Linked DNA regions of Homo sapiens: regions 2 and 3 are each linked to region 1. Evidence: promoter capture Hi-C in 16 types of primary human blood cells and fetal thymus (Javierre and others, 2016). All regions are on one chromosome and are shown on one strand. The core of a region is centred on a gene start or on the middle of the fragment in contact, and the rest is flanking DNA. Distances in the headings are between cores, read along the strand shown.

Evidence for each region. Contacts are between HindIII fragments. The CHiCAGO score rates a contact against its expected background, and 5 or more counts as called.
Region 2: a contact is called between a fragment that was not itself captured here and the fragment with the promoter of NOP14 in region 1, in 1 of 17 cell types (naive B cells). The highest score is 5.4, in naive B cells.
Region 3: a fragment that was not itself captured here is called in contact with the fragment with the promoter of NOP14 in region 1 in 2 of 17 cell types (naive B cells and total B cells); the score reaches 5.0 in naive B cells.

The regions. Positions count from the first base shown.
Region 1 is chr4:2,961,795-2,964,755 of GRCh38, forward strand. It overlaps NOP14 (NOP14 nucleolar protein), which reads right to left and starts at 1,612. Exons shown (of 18, transcript NM_001291978.2): 1 at 1,331-1,612. The coding sequence starts at 1,525. GRK4 (G protein-coupled receptor kinase 4) reads left to right here and starts at 1,777. Exons shown (of 16, transcript NM_182982.3): 1 at 1,777-2,328. The coding sequence starts at 2,277. RefSeq lists enhancers at 170-239, 1,270-1,803, 1,804-2,337 and silencers at 1,800-2,229, 2,400-2,449. The HindIII fragment of the contact is 6,609 bases long and covers 1-2,961 here.
Region 2 is chr4:2,630,794-2,633,648 of GRCh38, forward strand. FAM193A (family with sequence similarity 193 member A) reads left to right here. Exons shown (of 21, transcript NM_001366318.2): 5 at 142-376. Among named protein-coding and RNA genes, the nearest start is that of FAM193A, 96 kb to the left of the region's middle. RefSeq lists enhancers at 1-200, 201-700. The HindIII fragment of the contact is 716 bases long and covers 1,105-1,820 here.
Region 3 is chr4:2,494,604-2,497,589 of GRCh38, forward strand. RNF4 (ring finger protein 4) reads left to right here. Exons shown (of 8, transcript NM_002938.5): 3 at 2,404-2,518. Among named protein-coding and RNA genes, the nearest start is that of RNF4, 27 kb to the left of the region's middle. The HindIII fragment of the contact is 184 bases long and covers 1,639-1,822 here.

The sequences.
Region 1 (2,961 bases), core at 362-2,861:
TCTTTGATTTCTTCAAATATTTGTGTTTCTTCCAAGGGCCAAGCATTGGAGATCCAAAAAGGAGCAGCAATTCCCGTCCCCGTCCCAGGCCTTCAGCACAGGGCAGGGAGGTGGATCTGCTCAATACCAGAAGTTTGAGCAACCTGTCCTATTTGGGTTACATAGCTTGGGTGGTGAACCTGAGCTGGCCCTTTAGAGACTTTCGGAGGTAAGGCAGACCTTTTGGACAAACTGAGTTGCAAGAGGCGAAGCAAGGACAACAGCCAGACTGTGCGGGACTCGAACGACAAGCCAAGAAGGTTAAGAATAACAGTATTTAGAGAACACTTGCTGTGTGCTCTATGTGCTATCTTACTTAATTCTCACAAACCACCACGAGGGGTAGGATGTATACTATCATCTCTACTTTTGAAATGAGAAAACTGAGGCTTCAGTGGTGAAGACAAATGTGTCTCTTCTAGGGAACCACACTACCTTATTCTCCCACCCCGGCCCGGGGGTGTGTAATGAGGGACTCCTATCGAAGTCAGCTGTAAGTCTATCTTGCCTATTCATTATACAGGCTGTCGTCTTCGCGCAGTAAGGATAATATGTGTTTTGATTCAAAGACCATCCAGCTTGCACACTGTGATGAACAGAGATCAGGAGCTCATGAAGGCAAGGGCAAGTCTTATTTACCTTTATCTCCCCGAACCTAGAAGCGAGGTCAAACAGAAGCGCTCGGGGTAGCAAGAAGGCTTTGTAGATATTGAAATGTGAATGCATGCCCAGCCCTTACCAGGTGCGTGACCTTAGGAAATGCACTTGTCCTTTCTGTGCCTTAATTTTTTCACCAACCTGCTAATGTATGTTCCTCAGTGAAAATTTAAAAAAAAAAAAGTTAAAAAAACTAGGAAGCAATGAGTTTCCATAGAGTTACTTCCCAAGGAACAAGGTTACGCGCTTCGGGAGAGAGCCGATGAAACATCAAACGCAGCATCCTACACAGCCCCTATCCACCGTCCCCAAACCTGCAGAGCTCAAAGTAAACGCGGAAGGGTTAACAAGCAGCTTGGTCCAGGGCGCCGCCCGAAGTGACTGACTCGGCCTGACCCGGTTGGAGGAGTCGCCGAAATAACACGAGTGCAGGGTCTCCAAGACGGCGAGAGTTTCCAGGTCACTCCAGCTCAGAGAACAGCAGAGGCTTTCGGACTATCAAGTCAGTGCCGTGTGCCTGTCACGGCCTGTGCCGCTCAACGAGGAAACCGACGCACCGAGAAGGACGCAGCCGGCCGAGAGCAGCGTGGGGTCCAGATCCTGCCTTCCGGCTCCCCGTGCGCCCCCCGCTTACCTTCCTGAGGGCCCGTGCGCGAGACACCCCGGGCAGTCCCACGTCGTGGCGCGTCTTCCGGCCCAGGATCTGGAACTTCTGCCTGTTAACTTTCACCTCGAACGGATTGGAGTTGGCCTTCGCCGGGCCCCCTCGCGCTCCCGCCGGCGCCCCGGAGGCCTTCCTTCGCGCCCCGACCTTCTTCGCCTTCGCCATGGCGCGCGCCCCGCTGCGCCCAAGGGCCCGAGACCCGAAGAGAGACAGGCGCGCGCTACCCTAAGACACGTGCCGGGCCGCGGAACCGCTTCCTCGTCTCGCGAGAACAGCGCAGCACCTCCGACTCGCGAGAAGTAAACACCGCGCCCGCAGGCTCGGCTTACTCGCCGATAGGCTCAGCGACTACAACTCCCAGCAGGCCACGCGCCGCGGCCCGCCGTGTACTCTTGGCGCAGGGCCTTCTGGGAGCTGTAGTGCCCCGGCCGCGGCGGCGAGGGGCGCTCCCTCTTCAGCTAAGCCGTTAGCGCCGAGCCCGCCCGGGAGCGGGTCGCCGGCCGCGGCGGGCGCCCCTGCCAGTGAGCCCCTGTCCGAAGTGAGCCACGGCATTGACTCGGGGCTGCCCGGGGGCAGGGCACTGAGGAGGGAGTTGCGCGCGCGAGGCGAGGGCGATGGGGCCAAGAAGAACCGGGGCGATAGCGCGGCAGCGGTGACAGCTGGGACCCGCCGCGGTCGGGCTGCCCCCTCCCCTCGCCCCGACCGCTCCCCTGCTGGTGAGGGCCTGCGGAGGCGGCGGCGGCGGCGCCCTTGGTGGCAGTGGTGGCGGCGGAGCAGCCTCCCGGGATCGTGTCCGGAGCTCGAGGAGAGGGTGGTGCCCGGCGAGCTATGCACGGGGGCGGCGGCGTCTCCTCCTGTTCCGCCTCCTCAGTCTCCTCGGTCTCGCAGAATCCGCCGGCGGCGGCGGCGCCAGGACATGGAGCTCGAGAACATCGTGGCCAACTCGCTGCTGCTGAAAGCGCGTCAAGGTGGGTGCGCGGCAGGCGCCCCCGACCCCCCCCCCAGAGAACCCCGAATCCCGGGGAACCCTGGCCCCCCTGAAGGAACCCGACATCCCCGGAGAACCCCGATTTCCCTGGAGAGCCCCGACACCTCCCACTGGGGGAACCCAGATCTGCACGGAGCCGGAGCCGGGGTCTGTGCAGTGTGGTCAGGCTGCCCGGGCCAGGTCCCAGTCCCCATCTCCTGGCCCAGATGAGAGAAGTCTGCGCTTTGCTCTTCTTAGTCTTGCCCTGTGTCCTTGTCCTGTCCTCTCGGTGTGACCTCGGTGACAGTGTTGCTTCAGGATGCGGCAGGCAGTGTCCTGCTTGTGTTGGACAACCTGTCCCACCAAAAAAGAACGGCGTCTTTATGGTCTTAAGGGGGACAAAGAATAGCAGCCTGGGAACTACTCTGGGCGAGAACCTTCCGATAATGATTGTAGGGCAATGTTATTTTTAACATAGCTGCTTGGTTTTGAGGTTTGATCTGAGGCTCTATGGTGTGTCAAGTGTGCTTTAGCACGACGTGGTCACAGATGGACAAGTTGGCAAAAATTCAGCCTTTTATCATTATTAAAGTGAGGCAGAAATTTAAAAATAGTAATAAGTACTGCATTCATT
Region 2 (2,855 bases), core at 213-2,712, 330 kb before region 1:
CACAGGTGGTTATGAGGAAGGTGACTGTGTGGTCATCTAGAGGTGGCCACCTGTGGAAGGGCTTCAGAAAAGATGCTCACTGACATCAGAGCACCCATGGGCCCTGGTGGGCAGGCCCTGGTGACCCTCTTCTCTGTGCAGGCTCTGCGAGAGGGACCCCTACCAGCTGTACCAGCGTCTGGAACAGCAAGCTCGAGAGTATGTGCTGGAGATGAAGGTCCGCCTGCTCCGGCAGCTGTCGGCTGCGGCCAAGGTGAAGGCACCATCTGGCCTGCAGGGCCCGCCGCAAGCGCACCAGTTCATCTCCCTCCTGCTTGAGGAGTACGGCGCCCTCTGCCAGGCCGCACGCTCCATCAGCACCTTCCTTGGCACTCTGGTAAGAGAGAAAACGTGTTTTTCTTTCTGTTTGGATGAGCTGAAGAGAAGCATGTGGCAAGAGGAAGCTTCTCACGCATGTGTGCCGACCTCGCTGTCACACCCCCACACACTGTGATAGGCCCCTCTTCTCTACGGGAGAGGACCTGTTTCCTCTCCTCTTTGTCTTTCCTCTGGACTTTGCCACTGGATAAAAGCATTGGGTGGATTGATAAGCAGGTGACACCTCATGGTAGTACTGTTTGGAGGACCTTGAGGCCCAGGGAACGAGGCATGGGGGCAGTGTGAGGGGAGCACTGATGTGTGCCTTTATAAGGAGACAGAGAAATCTCCGGTGTCTTACTTAGGTTGTTCATTCTTTCGTTGCTGTAGACAGAGCTGGTATTAGGTGAAATGCCCATGAAGAGCATGAAGGCTGTAGAGAACAGCTTGTTTACCGCCCAGTGGCGTTCATTCATTCATGCAGGCATGCATGCACTCAGCAAGCCAGCACTGAGTTAAGGATCTGCTTGCAGTCTCAAGACAGGCCCTATCACCATCCTTGCCAATGGGGATCTGACAGTCCTAACAAAAGAGACACACAGATGGGTCCGGTTGCCTCAAAAGAGGAATCACTACATTGGGTGGAAGGAGCATGGTATAGAAATATGGTTACAAGTAGGCTGCGGTCAATCCTCAACAGCCTCAGTGCCCCCACGCTTTGGAAGGAGACCAGAGACAAGCCCTCAAAGCTTCCTTGACTGTTACTAATAGTCTATGGAGTTTTTCATCACTTAAACTTTATTATTAAATAATACTTAACTGTATTTGGGTGCTAGTTTTGGGTGCTTTCTTTCTTTTAATAAAGAAAAGGAATTTATTTCTCATGGTTAGGAAGGCTGAGAAGTCTAAGTTTGAGGGGCCACATCTGGTGAGAGCTTTCTTGCAGGTGGGGACTTGGACTCTGAACAGAGTCCAAAGGTGGTACAGGGCATCACATGGCGAGAGGGCTGAGCATCAGTTTTGGGTGCTTTCTTAGTGGTAAACCTACATTTTGAAACAAATACAGTAAGCATTGGCCTTGGTCTTTATCTGATTCTCAAGTTGATGGACCCTCTTAGAAAAATTTACATACAGCCCGGGTGTGGTGGCTCATACCTGTAATCCTCGCACTTTGGGAAGCCAAAGTGGGAGGATCACTTGAGCCCAGGAGCTTGAGACTAGCCTAGGCAACATGGGGAGACCCCACCTATACCAAAAAAATTTAAAATTAAATTAACCAGGCGTGATGACGCATGCTACTCAAGAGGCTGTGAGGCAAGAGGATCATTTGAGCTCAGGGTTGAGGCTGTGGTGAGCCAGTGTACTCCAGCTTGGGAATAGAGTGAGATCCTATCTCAAAAAGAAAAGAAAAAATTACATACATGTAATTGTAAGTCATTTCAGGGGGTTCACAGACTTCCTCAAGCTTCACTGCGCCAAGCCATGGGGAGGTATCTATTCTGAGAAGAGGTAGCGAGGTGAATGGGTAGGGTGAGGGGTGGGGGTGGGGCAGGGGGGCAGTTATCCTGTTTCAAGGTCTGAGTCCACTGGGTAGTGCCACCAGGCTTCCTTCTGGTACCTCGTCCTTCCTCTGGCATCTCTCGCAGCACAGCCTCCCCGTCTCTACCTGAGAGTCTGCCTGCCCTTCAGAGGTTCAAATCCAGAGCCCCTCCTCTGTCTTCTACAAGAACACTGGCTCAGGTTAAGAAGGATGCTCTCCAGCCCACCTAAACCTGGTGCCCAGAGAGACTCTGGTAGTGAAGACAGCAGCTGTTGCTGCTCTCCAGAAAATGCTGGCGAGGTCTGCACCTCCTCAGATAGTTACTGTAGGATACTGTTTTATGAAGCTGACAAAAATTAATTTGAACCATATTTATTAGAGCAAATTCCTAGCAGTTGACATAGAAATAATTTCTTGTGGCTTGAGGCCGGGTGCGGTGGCTCACGCCTGTAATTCCAGCACTTTGGGAGGCCGAGGCAGGCAGATCACCTGAGGTCAGGAGTTCAAGACCAGCCTGGCCAATATGATGAAACCCCGTCTCTACTAAAAATAACAAAAATTAGCCGGGCATGGTGGCGGGCGCCTGTAGTCCCAGCTACTCGGGAGGCTGAGGCAGGAGAATCACTTGAACCCGGGAGGCAGAGGTTGCATTGAGCCAAGATTGTGCCAGTGCACTCCAGTCTGGGCAACAGAGCGAGACTCTGTCTCACACACAAAACAAAACAAAATAAAAAAGAAATAATTTCTTGTGGCTTGAAAAAAATGCATACACCCAGAAGCTGTTTGATTAGTGTCTTTTTTCACTTCCTTTACACATAGAAATACCCACATTGATTTCTAGGGGTCCAGCAGACTAGATACCCTTAACTATTCCTTCCTCCAAGGGAAACAACTGAATTTACTAGATAATAAAAAAATAAGCCAGGCGTGGTGGCTTACGGCTATAATCCCAGCACTT
Region 3 (2,986 bases), core at 481-2,980, 470 kb before region 1:
TCTTCTGACCTTGTGATCCGCCCGCCTCAGCCTCCCAAAGTGCTGGGATTACAGGCATGCGCCACCACACCTGGCCAGAACTTTTGAAAAGAGGCAAAGGCAGAGGAGAATAAAGGAAGGAGGAAGTAACTTGTGGAATGCTGAAAAAGGTAAAAATAACCTTTAAATAAGGAAGAGGAACAGGCTATGATCTAATGCTTGCTTGGACTAATATAAGCATGCCAAGGTAAATATTTAGGCTAAATTGTGGGAGCTAAGAATATAAAGTACATTGATTTCTTTATTATGGCTAGCAGATATTTAAGAATGTTAGTACAGGTCTTTGAATAAATTTTGCTTTTAAGAGAAGTTACTATTTATTTCTAATTAGATGGGGAGGAAAGTCTTTGAAGAGGAACCTCTACTTTACTTTTTACATAAGCAACCTGGTGGCTGCTGGGGAAACCCTTAAAACACTGGGCAGTAGAACTCCACTGAGGTTAGTGTCAGCTCCCTTGAGGCCAAGAGCAGCTGCTCACTTGGGAGTTTTGGCTGCTGTCGCTTGGCCTCTGGGCCCTCCTGGGGCTGGTTCTGTGCTCCTTAGTCCGTGGGAAGTTACTAGACCCAGCTTCATTTCCAAAACATCTCAAGCTGCCATTTGATAAGAGTAGCATTGGAACACAGAATCAGGCTTATCCCTGTTGCCTAGCGAGGGCTTGGCTGGATGGTGGGTGTTCCTGGATCTTGTATGAATCTCTCCTGCAATATCTGGTCCTTTCAGAGTTTCCTGGGACAGATTGACCCTAGTAAGGCTAAGGAATTGGGATAGTAGTAGCATCTTCCGTCTCTGCGCAGTACTTTACATACATGATCTCATTTAGACCTTATAACAGCTCTGCAAGGCTGGTACTGGTGAGGAACTTGAGACTTAGTAGTGCAGTACTTGTCCCAGGTTGTCCAGTGCAAAGGATAGCAGGACAGGGCACAGGGAGAAGAGCACGGAAACACCAGTGGGAATACAAGGTGACAGGCTCTGTTGGGAAGCTCTTTTTTTTTTGGGGGGGGGTGAGATGGAGATTTACTCTTGTTGCCCAGGCTGGAGTGCAATGGCACAATCTCGGCTCACCGCATCCTCCACCTCCCAGGTTCAAGTGATTCTCCTGCCTCAGCCTCCCGAGTAGCTGGGATTACAGGCATGTGCCACCACGCCCAGCTAATTTTGTATTTTTAGTAGAGACGGGTTTCACCGTGTTGCCCAGGCTGATCTTGAACTCCTGACCTCTGGTGATCCGCCTGCCTCTGCCTCCCAAAGTGCTGGGATTACAGGCCTGAGCCACTGCGCCTGGCCAGCTCTGTCTCTTGATTAAGGTGGAGGATATTCTCAGCTTGTCTTTTGGGACCAGGCAGACCAGAAATGCTGGAGCATATTGGCAAACCAGCAGCCTAAGGATTTGGAAGAAAGGCTGGTCAGAGTGTCAGTTGCTTATCAACCAGCTGAGAGCCTGAACTTTCCGGAAGACATGGCTCTTGGGTAGCCACTGGGAACAGGCTTAAAACAGCTTTGGTTCTTTGAGTTCTTTGTGGGGAGTGATTGTCTGGTGTGAATCACAGTTGATAGTGCCCTGAAAGGTTCAAGGCCACATTTCCCAGGGGAAGATAAGCTTTCCACAATGTATAGAAACTCAGAAAACTCCAAGTTCTTTATGCTAAGAAACAAAAAGGGCTCAGAAAGGCTGAACACAAAGTCAAGGAAGAGAAATTGATAACTTTTGGTTAAAGGGAAGAGTTTCCAGCCTTTTGGCCAGGGCATCCACTACCAAGTCCAAATCCTGACTTGGCCTCAAGCTTTTGTAAAGGGATGCATCGTGTCCCTTTTGACCTGCTGATAGTTTTTTTGAGATGGAGTCTCACACTGTCACCCGGGCTAGAGTACAGTGACGCGATCTCGCCTCACTGCAACCTCTGCCTCCCAGGTTCAAGTGATTCTCCTGCCTCAGCCTCTGGAGTAGCTGGGATTACAGGTGCCTGCCACCACGCCCAGCTAACTTTTGTATTTTCAGTAGTGATGAGGCTTCACCATGTTGGCCAGGCTGACCTTGAACTCCTCACCTCATGATTCGCCCACCTCAGCCTCCGAAAGTGCTGGGATTACAGGTGTGAGCCACCATGCCCAGCCGACCTGCTGATAGTTTGATAAAACAGAAGTTTTACTTTCTGGAATTTCTACTCATTTTATGTTTTGGATGGTTTCTCTCTCCGTAAGCATTCAGTATTCTTGAATCTCAAGTTTTGAAAGGAGCCCTAACTTCAAGTCTACTCGCTGGCTTCTTAATGAAGTGAACCATTTCTATTGCCCATTTAGTTCTTCCTGAAACCCTGACATTCTGGTGTTCATGTGACTCTTCTTTCCCCCTTGCTACTCAGAGAAAGCGTCGTGGTGGAGCAATAAATTCTAGACAAGCTCAGAAGCGAACTCGGGAAGCAACCTCCACCCCCGAGATCTCCTTGGAAGCAGAACCCATAGAACTCGTGGAAACTGGTAAGATTGCCAGGGACACTACAACTGTGGGGTGTTAAAGTGGAGAGAGAACACTGTACCAGGGTGAGCTAGTAGAAGGTGCTTTCAGTGTCTTTAGAAGGCCTATGCAGTCTCACACTCACCATGTACAACTCAAAGCTTCACAGATTCTGAAATAGCTTCTCAACTGGGCTAACTGTTCAACTCTGGTAATGTGCAGCAGTGGGGTAGGATCCATTTAAAAAAAAATCTAGCGCAAATGAGATAGCCCACCTTTTCTATCTGAAACTGCATCCCCAATTGCTGGACCTTGTAAAGTACTTCGCTTTCCTCTTCTGTTTTTCATTAGGACATGAAATCACCCAAGAAGGCAAACTTGTCCACAGAGCTCCCTGTGTTGGAGCTTGGTATAGGCAGAGGCCAGATTGGATTTCCCCTTCTGCCTGCTCAAGAAGTGGTTGATGGCTGGCCTAAGTCCCTTTGCTCTGC